Linked DNA regions of Homo sapiens: all the other regions are linked to region 3. The links are contacts of gene promoters, found by promoter capture Hi-C in human tissues and cell types (Jung and others, 2019). All regions are on one chromosome and are shown on one strand. Each heading gives the region's core, a stretch centred on a gene start or on the middle of the fragment in contact. The rest is flanking DNA. Distances are from core to core; before and after follow the strand shown. Region 1 overlaps ZHX2-AS1 (ZHX2 antisense RNA 2). Region 2 overlaps ANXA13 (annexin A13). Region 3 holds the start of ZHX1 (zinc fingers and homeoboxes 1).

What was found. Contacts are between HindIII fragments. The study calls those that stand out against the background at their distance.
Region 1: a fragment that was not itself captured here is called in contact with the fragment with the promoter of ZHX1 in region 3 in 1 of the 25 tissues and cell types used here (spleen).
Region 2: a fragment that was not itself captured here is called in contact with the fragment with the promoter of ZHX1 in region 3 in 3 of the 25 tissues and cell types used here (hippocampus, lymphoblastoid cells and mesenchymal stem cells).

The regions. Positions count from the first base shown.
Region 1 is chr8:122,776,318-122,779,760 of GRCh38, forward strand. It overlaps ZHX2-AS1 (ZHX2 antisense RNA 2), which reads right to left. Exons shown (of 2, transcript XR_007061082.1): 2 at 1,567-1,880. Among named protein-coding and RNA genes, the nearest start is that of ZHX2-AS1, 3.6 kb to the right of the region's middle. The HindIII fragment of the contact is 3,632 bases long and covers 1-3,209 here.
Region 2 is chr8:123,724,405-123,727,744 of GRCh38, forward strand. All of the region lies in intron 1 of ANXA13 (annexin A13), which reads right to left. The region is part of intron 1 of LOC105375739 (a long non-coding RNA gene); the gene reads left to right. Among named protein-coding and RNA genes, the nearest start is that of ANXA13, 11 kb to the right of the region's middle. The HindIII fragment of the contact is 8,461 bases long and covers 1-3,340 here.
Region 3 is chr8:123,272,573-123,276,217 of GRCh38, forward strand. It overlaps ZHX1 (zinc fingers and homeoboxes 1), which reads right to left and starts at 1,714. Exons shown (of 4, transcript NM_007222.5): 1 at 1,645-1,714. It overlaps ZHX1-C8orf76 (ZHX1-C8orf76 readthrough), which reads right to left and starts at 1,714. Exons shown (of 6, transcript NM_001204180.2): 1 at 1,645-1,714. RefSeq lists silencers at 971-1,338, 1,375-1,574, 1,775-2,464 and an enhancer at 2,945-3,064. The HindIII fragment of the contact is 11,288 bases long and covers 1-3,645 here.

The DNA of each region.
Region 1 (3,443 bases), core at 144-2,643, 500 kb before region 3:
GCCCCGCCCACTTCCTAATATGATCACATTGAGGATTAGGATTTCAACATATGAATTGGGGGGCAAGGGAGCACAAACATTCAGCCCTTCAACCCGTGGCACTGATTCTTATGCTCTCAGAGGGAGCAACATTGTAATAGATTCATACATGAAGAACTGTGACAGGCAGCCAGGTGTCAGCAGTGTGAAACATGTACCGCTTAAGTAGCATGTGTGGCCATGAGATGGTTTTAAATGATGTCCAGGTACAGCACAAAATAGCTCTGACTCAGAGAAAGTTACAACTTTCAATTCTCTTCCCATCCTTTTAATTAGCTCAAGAAAAAATTCTCAGTTTGGTGCTACCCTGTCTCTAATAACCTTCTAACACCTTTCCCCTCCATCTCTACCTTCTGCAAATAAGAGTATCTAGCTAGCTCAATAGTGCTGTTTTTTTTTTCCCATGGTTATTTTCACTGTTACCTTTCATTGGTTCATTTGAAAATTCAATATTGGATTTTCTTGTTTCTATTGTGACAAAAGGCTTCTTTAGTATTAGTATGAAATAAGTGCATTTAAGTTTTAAAAATGTGAATCAATGTAAATAAAATGTTTTCTTTTTTTTTTTTTTTTTTTTTTTTTTTGAGACAGAGTCTAGCTTTGTCACCAGGCTGGAAGTGGTACAATCTTGGCTCACTGTAACCTCTGCCTCCCCGGTTCAAGCGATTCTCCTGCCTCAGCCTCCTGAGTAGCTGGGATTACAGGCACTCACCACCACACCTGGCTAATTTTTTTTTGTTTTTAGTAGAGATGGGGTTTCACCATGTTGGCCAGGCTGGTCTCAAACTCCTGACCTCAAATGATCCACCTGCCTCAGCCTCCCAAAGTGCTGGGATTGCAGGTGTGAGCCATGACCCTGGCCAAATAAAATGTTAAATTAAAAATACTATAGGTAGTTCCTTTGCTACTGGGACAAAATTGGTGAAGGGGGTTTGCACATGAGTTAATTTGCAAGTCACAAGTATAGTGGGAAGCAGGCAGGATTTGTAATCAATCAAATGTGGGCTCAAGACCTGCTTCTAACTTATCAGCTGTATGGCCCATGGATAATTCATAAGCTTCTATAAACTTGTTTTCTCCCACAAATTAAGGAGACAATATACTATTCAGAAGGTTGTTTAAAAGATTAAATTACATAAAGTATAAGAAGCACCTCCCAGGCAGCCATGTACATGGTGGGCACTTGCACTCCCTATCACAGTGTATATCCTTAAATAATGGAAACCTCTGTTTTTGGCAACACCAAACAGGAACTTAACTCCAGTACCTACTGAGTATCTATGCTTGATAAATGAGTTCTTATTTGCTTAGGATCTGGGACCTGTGGCGCGGGATCCTTCATGAGCAACAACTAAAATCAAGAAAAGCTTTGATTTGGAGAGTGGGCCAGCTCAGGCATCATGGACCAAGAGGCCTCTCTACCCCTTGTCCTGGCCTCCAATATTTCACAATGCTACCTATACCCTGCAGAGTTCAGGGGGAAGTAGATCTGAAATATTCAGATATATGTGCAAATAAAGACACGGATAATAACTCCCATTTTATTTATCTATCACTGTGTAATAAACCACCCCAAAAGTTAATAATGTTAAACAACTACAGTCTTATGATCATCTCATTATTCTGTGGGTTGACTAGGTGGAGCTGGATGGTTTTCCTCTACATAATGTCAGGTGAGACTAGAGTCAAGTGGGAGATCGATTAGGCTGGAGCATCCAAGATGGCTAAAGTCTGTGTATTAATCAGGATCTCAGGTGGAGCTATTGTCCCTATCACCTTTGTTTTCACTCCATGTGGCCTCTCCATGAAACTTCGGCTTCTCACAGCATGGCAGCAGGACCCTAAAAGGAAGGAAACAGAAACTGCCAGTCTCTTAAGACTTGGATTTAGATGTCTCAGAATATCACTTTCATTGCATCCAAAGCAATCACAGGACCAGTCCAGATTCCAAGGGAGGGGAAGTAAACTCCACCTCTTAATGGTGATGTATTTTTCAAAAAAGGAAGGAAAGGATTGAAAAAAGCCATCTTAGAAGACTACCACACCTCCTAAAGCTTTCACTTTTTGCAAAAGGTTTTTATTCTTGAAATGTGTGTATATTTCAACTAAGCAAATATGTACCTAGGAATTTATCCTAAGGAAGTAATCGCAGATGATTCAAAAGATCTGACACAAGGTTGTTCATTGGAATAAAATTGAAACTACCCAATGCCCAACAACAGGGGACCAATTAAGTCCAAAGGTGGTTGAGGACAGTGTTTTAAAAGTCTATTCTCTGGGAAGCAGGTAAAATTAAGCTTAAATTCCAACTCCATTACTTAGCATCTGTGTGATGTCGAGCAAGGTACAGTACTTAAGCTCTTTAAGTCTCAGTTTCTATATCGGTAAAATAAAGACAAAATATAGATTTTTGTGATGATTCAATGAGATGATACATATAAAAGGCTCAGCACATGGTAAATGATCAATAATTGTGAACTGCTATTATTATTTATGATAGTCCTTAGTGCTATCATATTAGTGCAAATCTTTCCCATTCTCTCCATTTCCAGGCACACAATACTTCCATGGATCTTTACAGTTAACTTTGTGTTTAGTTCTGACCAATGAGTTGTAAGTGAAAGTGGCATACGTTACTTCCTGGCTGAACATTTACTTGTCCAACATTATTGATTCTGAAGCTCCTAAATACTGTCAGATAACGGTCTGTCTACTCCATGAGTATACTTCAAGCAAACAGGGATCATACCACATAAAGCAAAAGCCACCTTTGTCTTATTCCTCATTGTTTTCTCTTTATATGGTGCAAGTTCAGTCCATGCTAAACTCTGAACAATTTTAAAACACTGCAACACATCAGAAGCCCCTCATCCTTGCTAGTGTCCATGAGATCCAAGTGCTCTGAAGATATGAGAACCCAGCAGACTGTTTAGAGGGTTACCTGGCTTCCCTCCCACCTGGCCCATTCCACCCTACATACAATCTGTCACCCAGCCAGAAGCAGGTGGCAGTGAGGTGGCAGCAAGGGAAACTTGGCTTATAGAAAACCCTCCTAAGTGATTGATCATCCAGAGGAGGTGCAGCCTCAAAATAGGAATAGCTTCGTTAAGGTTTGGGTAATTTCCATGGAAACAGACAGAACTAGACTTATTTTAAAGGGGGGGGGGGCAGGGCGTGGAATAGCCTGCAAGGGGCATAATAAGGTAAGCGATGTAAAAATGTTGAAGTTGGTGTGGCCGGCGGGACGGGACAAGGCGGGGGAATGGGGGGAGGGTCCCATATTTTTTTCTTTTCTTTTTACAATTTTGGTTCACCCTGGGTGAGGCAGAGGTTGGGAGGAGATCAGGCAGCGGTAAATTCTGATGTTGATGGCAAGTAAATTAGGTTCTTAGCCGGTACCAAAT
Region 2 (3,340 bases), core at 822-3,321, 450 kb after region 3:
TACAGGGATATATCAGGTATAAATATTTCTAAAACTCCCCAGACAATTCTAACAAGCAGCCAGGGTTGAGAACCGTTAGTCTGAGAAAAATTAGAAACTTCCGCTGTTGATATCCCGGTAAAGGAGGAAGACAACTTAGAAATGTGCTGAAGGTTTACACAAGAAAGAAATCCTTGACCTTATCCAAGATGCTAAAGATAAAGGGAAGAGGTTTAGCATGAAATCTTAAAGTGAAAATTGAACCCAGGTTTTTCCAAATGGGTGACATGGAACACTGAAAGCATTAAAGCCATTGGACCTCCAGCTAGGAAAGGAACTCCTTTTAAAATTCTCTCCCAACTCTTCTGATTAAGTCTTTGCTTAGTGATAGTGGATCTTTCACACTCGTCTAATCCAGGGGTTGGCAAACTGCAGACTGAGGACCATATCTGGCCCATTACTTATTTTTGTAAATAAAGTTTTATTGGAACACAGCCAACCCATTCATTTACATTTGGCCTATGGCTTCTTTCACGCTACAATGGCAGAGTAGTTACCTACTTGCACCAGAGGTTCTGTGGCCCACAAAGCCTCATTATTTACTTTGTGGACTCCCACTGTATCCCATGTGGACCATGTAAACAGGTCCTTTTTTAGTCAGAGGATAGGACCTTACCCTTCAGCTGGCAACATCAAATTTAGTTAGAATTTAATACATTCTTTTTGCTTTCATTTAGTTATCTATATTTATGTCAACTGACATTAATTTTCCATTTATGGTATCAGTATAAAATTTCCTTTTAAGATTAATTTATATTAAAAAGTGCGTATTTAAAAATAATTAATAGAATAATTAGTAGAAGAGGTAACCCATATATTTGGCAACAATCATGAAGGTTGTACTTAAATCTGAAGTTTGGGAGACATTGAATGTATCCAATCCCATCATTTACAAATAAAGAAACTGAAGCCTGGTTGTTAAGTCACCTGCTCAGGGTCACCTTATGGAAACATCCATCTCCTATCTCTCTCAGAACAATGTTCTTTTACCTCTAACCGGTTACTCATTTGCACTTTGAAGCCAGTTAGTATGAATGCAAATTATTGTACTTTTAACATTCATGAATTCAGAGCCAGAAAATATCCTGGTGACATTTCCACAGACATGGTTAGTAGAGATTGATGAGCAATTTGAAACAAAATAGAGGGGCCATTCACATCTGAAGCATGAATCTTGGGTGATTAGTGACATATTGGTTTCATTAAGTCATAAAACTACCCAACAGAAAAAAATATATTTGGCAGTATACCCTGTTGGGTATATTTAAGCACAGTTTGAATACGAATATTTGGTATTTCATCATGTAGTTATTGCTGTTTTCATTAGGATTCTCCAGGATCTCACACCGACTAAAAGCAAGCCAATTCCTTCATGCCTAGAACCTCTTCCCACATTAGAAGTTTATTAATCTGCGGGGGTTGATCAGAGAGCTGTTGGGAAAGTGTGTTAGGAAACTTGAGCTCTGCCCACCTTAGTAGGGTGCTGGAATGTTACAGAGTTGTTCATTGCTGTTGATACCTCCTTTCCAAGATGCAGTATTACAGTGACTTACATGATGACTAAGTGTTTGGCTATCACTCTAAAGGGGCAGAAATATTTGTATCATTTAACAACTAAAACTAAAACTAGAAAAACATCCATTTGGATCACAGCTCAACATGATTTGCTTGCATATGTTGACTGTATGTTCTGAAAAATGAGTTCAGTTCTTTAGATTAAAACATGACCTTTCTATTACATTTGGGATTGCTTCCATGTTGGCATTTCAGCACCTTTTAATGAAGATTGGTATAGTTAGGTCATTTTCCAGAAAGACAAGCTTCCTTAGGCTATGCCATCTGGGTTACACGTGTTGATGTGATATTTACTTATCAAAGGTGACTGCAGGGCTGGGTAGGAGTTAGGAGACCTGACTTGAAGGCCCTTCAATATGCTGTGCCTTAAACTGGTGGGCACCATTGTACCTGAAGGTACTGATGGTATCCTCAGGAGTGTAAACAATGTGGGCATCCTGCCATGCACTGAGCTGTGGTATAGGGAGTCCAAGTGGGGTAGCCCTTTTGGGGGCTACACCCAAACAGAGGAGAGGTGAGCCAATCAGCTCCTGAAGGTTCCAGCCTGTGTCTTTCCAGGGGAGCACTGCTCATCTAGGCAGGAAATCCAGCAGCCCAGCAGCCTTTTTACTGAGGGTTTCTGCAGTGAAACCCTTCTCACTCTGGTATAAGAACTACTATTTGATCCAGCAATCTCACTACTGGGTATCTACCTAGAGGAAAAGGAGTCATTATATGAAAAAGATACTTGCACATGCATATTAATAGCAGCACAATTTGCGATTGTAAAAGTGTGGAACCAACCCAAATGCCCATCAATCAATGAGTGGATAAAGAAGCTGTGGTATATATATACAATAGACTACTACTCATCCATAAAAAGGAATGAATTAATGGCATTTGCAGCAACCTGGATGGGATCGGAGAATACTATTCTAAGTGAAGTAACTCAGGAACAGAAAACCAAACATCATATGTTCTCACTCATAAGTGGGAGCTAAGCTATGAGGACGGAAAGGCATAAGAATGATACAATGGATTTTTGGGACTTGGGGGAAAGGGTGGGAGAGGGTAAGGAATAAAAAACTACAAATAGGGTTCAGTGTATACTGCTCGGGTGATGGGTGCACCAAAATCTCACAAATGACCACTGAAGAACTTACTCATGTAACCAAATACCACCTGTTCCCCCAAAACCTACAGAAATAAAGAATTTTTAAAAAAGAAGAAGTTGTTACTCATGGGCTAACAGTTTTGAGAAAAACTGCTGCCTCTTGGCTGCTGCTGTCATCAACAGGAGGATAAGGGTCAATCTTCAGGAGAAGCTGACTTTTCTCTGTTATAAGAGAAGAAATCAGTGTAGGGACATGCCTGGGCCAGAAGGGCAGGAATGGTGATTTCTGGTGGAGATCCAGTGACATAAAGACATTCTGAGGACATCTGCCCTGGAGCCTTGTTTTCCCATTTAAGCGGTGGTTCTCAATAAACCAGGAGCGATTTTTGTCTCCCAGGAGACAATTGGCAATGTCTGGAGACATTTTCAGTTGGCACGAGTAGGGGAGTATTACTGGAATATCTAGTGATAGAGGCCAGGATTCTGCTAAACATCCTTCAGTAATGCACAGAACAGACAGCCCCCCTCCCCCCGCCCACACACACACAAATAATTACCTGGTCCCAAATGTCAGCAGTGCCAAGGACGAATGTGCCAAGGGTCCACAACCCTGGCTGAATGGTTGTAACGATT
Region 3 (3,645 bases), core at 464-2,963:
TCCTGCTCACCTTCGCTCCCGACATAAAAACAAATGACTTTTTCAGAATAATTTTTCAGAAACGAAGATAATTAATGTAGCACCATATAACACAAATTAAAGCTTTCAGACAAAGACTGAGAAACAATGACCAACACCAGCAAATCTAAAGTGCTCTTATATATGTATACACACAACACACACACACACCCCAAACCAAATATTCACTGTTCCTGGGGGGAGACTGCTTCTTCCTCCCTAACCGTGAACCGCTGTATATTTTCCAATTTTGTGATTTTCCTTTTTCTGCTATCACATTAACCTCCAAGAGAACTGCTTAAGTTACATGGAATCCCAACCTAATCACATCACGACTTCTCTCTCAGCCTTTACATTTTTCTCTCAAATATTAGCTCTTCGCATTTTTTTTTTTTTCTAATAGCTGGGCTGAGTTGACAGAAAAGGGCTGTGGAATTCCTGCTCTGTCCGATATCTTCCCTGTATTCCTCTTTTCTCATCCCTAGTCTCTGTTCTAATTCCCCCGCCTGCTGTCTCTCATTGACGCCTTCCCAGCTGCTGGATCCTTCACTAACCTAAGCTAAGGATATCAAATGGAATCTTTTCCTTCTCAGGGGCTATGCTCTTTCCTTACAGTTACCCACGGAGGAGAGAGGACAGGAAAGGTACTAAAACAAAGAATTGCCAAGTCCCTTTACCTCCAACTTTGGTGTAAATATATAAGGAAAGGGGATCTGCCAGGGCTCTTCTTTCCTGCCCTTAGACCTTGTTCCTCTCACACCTCTCCTTCCCAGCCTTTTATACCCCTTGAGGTATTAGTAGATTGTTCACTGTGGGCCCTAAGGCTTGGAGGATTCCCATGGGTCAGCCCCCACACCCCCACGCCCCTACCATCCTCTTTAATTAACTTCTCCCTAAATCCCAGGGCTTCGTCACAATCGTAATATGGTTCTTAAGGACTCAACTCCCAGTCTTTCCCAAAGTTGGGACATGGCCTGGCCCCGAAACGGGTGCGCATAGCCTTCCTTGAACTGGAGGTAAAGACTTCTCCTGAAGGGTTTGCTGGGGCTCCAACCTCAGTCAGTGCGCTCAGCTCCAGCAAGAGAATCTCTCCTTACTCTCAGGGAGACTGGGTCCCCCACGAGGCAGCCACACGCCCCCGGAGGACAGCGCTCCTGACCTCCTCTAGGACTCCCAACATTACTGGGGTGCTCCCTCCGGCGGCGCCCTCCGCTGGGAATACGCAGTCTTCACTCCTCTCAACAATCCTAAGTTGCTGGGTCCTCACCAAGGCAGGGGGCTGAGATGTTCCCTCCAGAGAGCCCCCCGCCCCCAAGCTCTTTCGGTGGCGGAGACACCCAAAAAGAGCGAGGGAGGCTGTGGGTCTGTCTGTCCCTCTGCGGCGACTACCCAGCCGCGAGGCAGGCCCCGTCCCTCCCCCTCGGACGCCCCACGCCGGGTCCACCCCGCCACCCGCCGCCGCGAGCGGGCTCAGCCCCAGGGGTCTCTGCTGTGAGGCTGCCCTCCTCCCGCCAGGCCCCGCGCTACTCGCCTTTCCCGTGCCGGCCGCGGACTCTGCGCTCCAGTTCCCACCCGCAGCCCAGAGTCTCCGGGCCCGCTGGTCGCGGAGCCGGCTCGCGCCACTACCTGCAGGGGCCGCCGCGCCTCTCAGCGCCACGCCGCCGCCATCTTGCATTTCAAACCGGCTGCACTTTTCAGGGAGTCAACTCTGACCTGTGAACCCTAAACCCGGAACCGCTCGGCGGGCCCGCAAAGGGGCCTCAGCAGCTCGGTGGCCCCGCGGAGTGTGGGGACTCAGGGTGGGGGTGCGAGGAGAGGCGCGCGCCCCAGCGGCCGTCCGGGGGCGGAGGGGGAAGGGAGAGAGCCGGCCAAGGCGGGGCCCTCCCGCGCGCGCGTCCTCCGCGCGCCCCCACCCCGTGCGGCGCCGAGCTCTCCACGCCCAGACCCTGCTACTCCACTGGGGTCCGACCCCGGCCCCTAGTCCGGGGATTGGCGCACCGCGGGAGGTAGGGAGGCGCCCCGCCCCCCTGTCAACAGAAGCCCCGCCCCAGACTGCGGAAGCTCCGCCCCCTGTCAGGAGACGCCCCGCCTTCCCAGGGCTCGAAATGGCCCCGCCCTTTGCCTGCGACCGCTCCGCCCGCTGTGGACTGAAGCCTGGTCTTCTCTCGGGTCAGCACAGAAGGCAGCCCCGCCTTCCTTGCGCTCCGCCTTCCTAATGTCACTGCTGGATCGTGAGAGGTAAGCATGCTGGCTTCTACTGAAACGCCCCTTGTCATCACACGCCCATCCCCTGGGGCGACACGACCCAGGCCCCGCCCCTCGGGGGGCTGCTGCGAGTCCGGCCGGGAGCCCAGCGCCCTGACAGAAGTCGCCGCGCCCCTTGTCAGCGGCAGCTCCACCTCTCCTCGCTTCGGACCCCGCTCCTCCGCGGGCCGCAGCTCCACCCGCTGACACCGAAAGTTCAGTTCAGCTGCACTCAGAACCGCCGGGCAAGGCGGAGCCGCCCTCTGCCCCTCAGCCGCCCTCCTCCCTGCGAACCGCCACTCGCTCTTCCAGAGGCTTCTGTCCGAGTCGAGGGCTTCACATCCCGTCGGCTTTCAGGGAACCAGCCCCGCAGCGGGGCCAGCGAGGGCCAGGGGTTTCGGGAACACTGCCCGGCGTCTCCGCCCCTCCCTACTCACTTTCCCTTTCCCCCGCACCGCGGTCAGAACGTGGAGGAACAGAACCAAAGCGGAGAGCGGCGACTCACCCTCCAGCTGCTCCACACGCCGGGCCTTGGACGCTCGAGCGCTCCTGGGCCCCTTGACGTTCACTCCCCACCCCCATCCCAGTCGCGGACCCTTTGTGCAGAGCTCCGCTGAGCCACAGTAATCCTAAAAGCACAGCAGAGCTCCGCTGAGCCACATTAATCCTAAAAGATGCAATTGCTTCAAGTGGAAGTCTGATTTTTTTTTTTTTTTTGAGACGGAGTCTCGCGTTGTCGCTTAGGCTGAAGTGAAATGGCGCGATCTCTGCTCACTGCAACCTCTGCCTCCCGGGTTCAAGCGATTCTCCTGCCTCAGCCTCCCGAGTAGTTGGGATTACAGGGGCCCGTCACCTAACGCCGGGGTAATTTTTGTATTTTTGGTAGAGACAGGGTTTCGCCATGTTGGCCAGGCTGGTCTTGAACCCCTGAACTCAAGTGATCCGCCAGCCTCGGCCTCCCAAAGTATTGGGATTACAGGAGTGAGCCACCGCGCCTGGCCGTGGAATCTGATCGTTGAAATCAGTGTTCTACAATATTCTTTTTATTTGTAGGTTTCATCCTGGAATCCTAAAACTTGTGTAGGATAAGGCTTAATTTTATAAGCAAAGGTATTCAACCCTGCCACATTCAATGCCCTGTATTTACAACAAAAAATATAACACTGCTTTACTCTTCTGGAGTTAAATTCCTAATGCAAACTATCTCTACAAATAATTTCAAGAAACCAATGTAATGTTCTAATAAAGGTGAAAAAGGAGAAAGTAGTTCATAATAAAATACTGTATGTACTAATATCAAGAAAAATTTTAAAATAACAGAGTTTTCACAATGTAAATACTCTGCCACCAATAGAATGCAAAACAAAAACTGTCCCGGCAAAA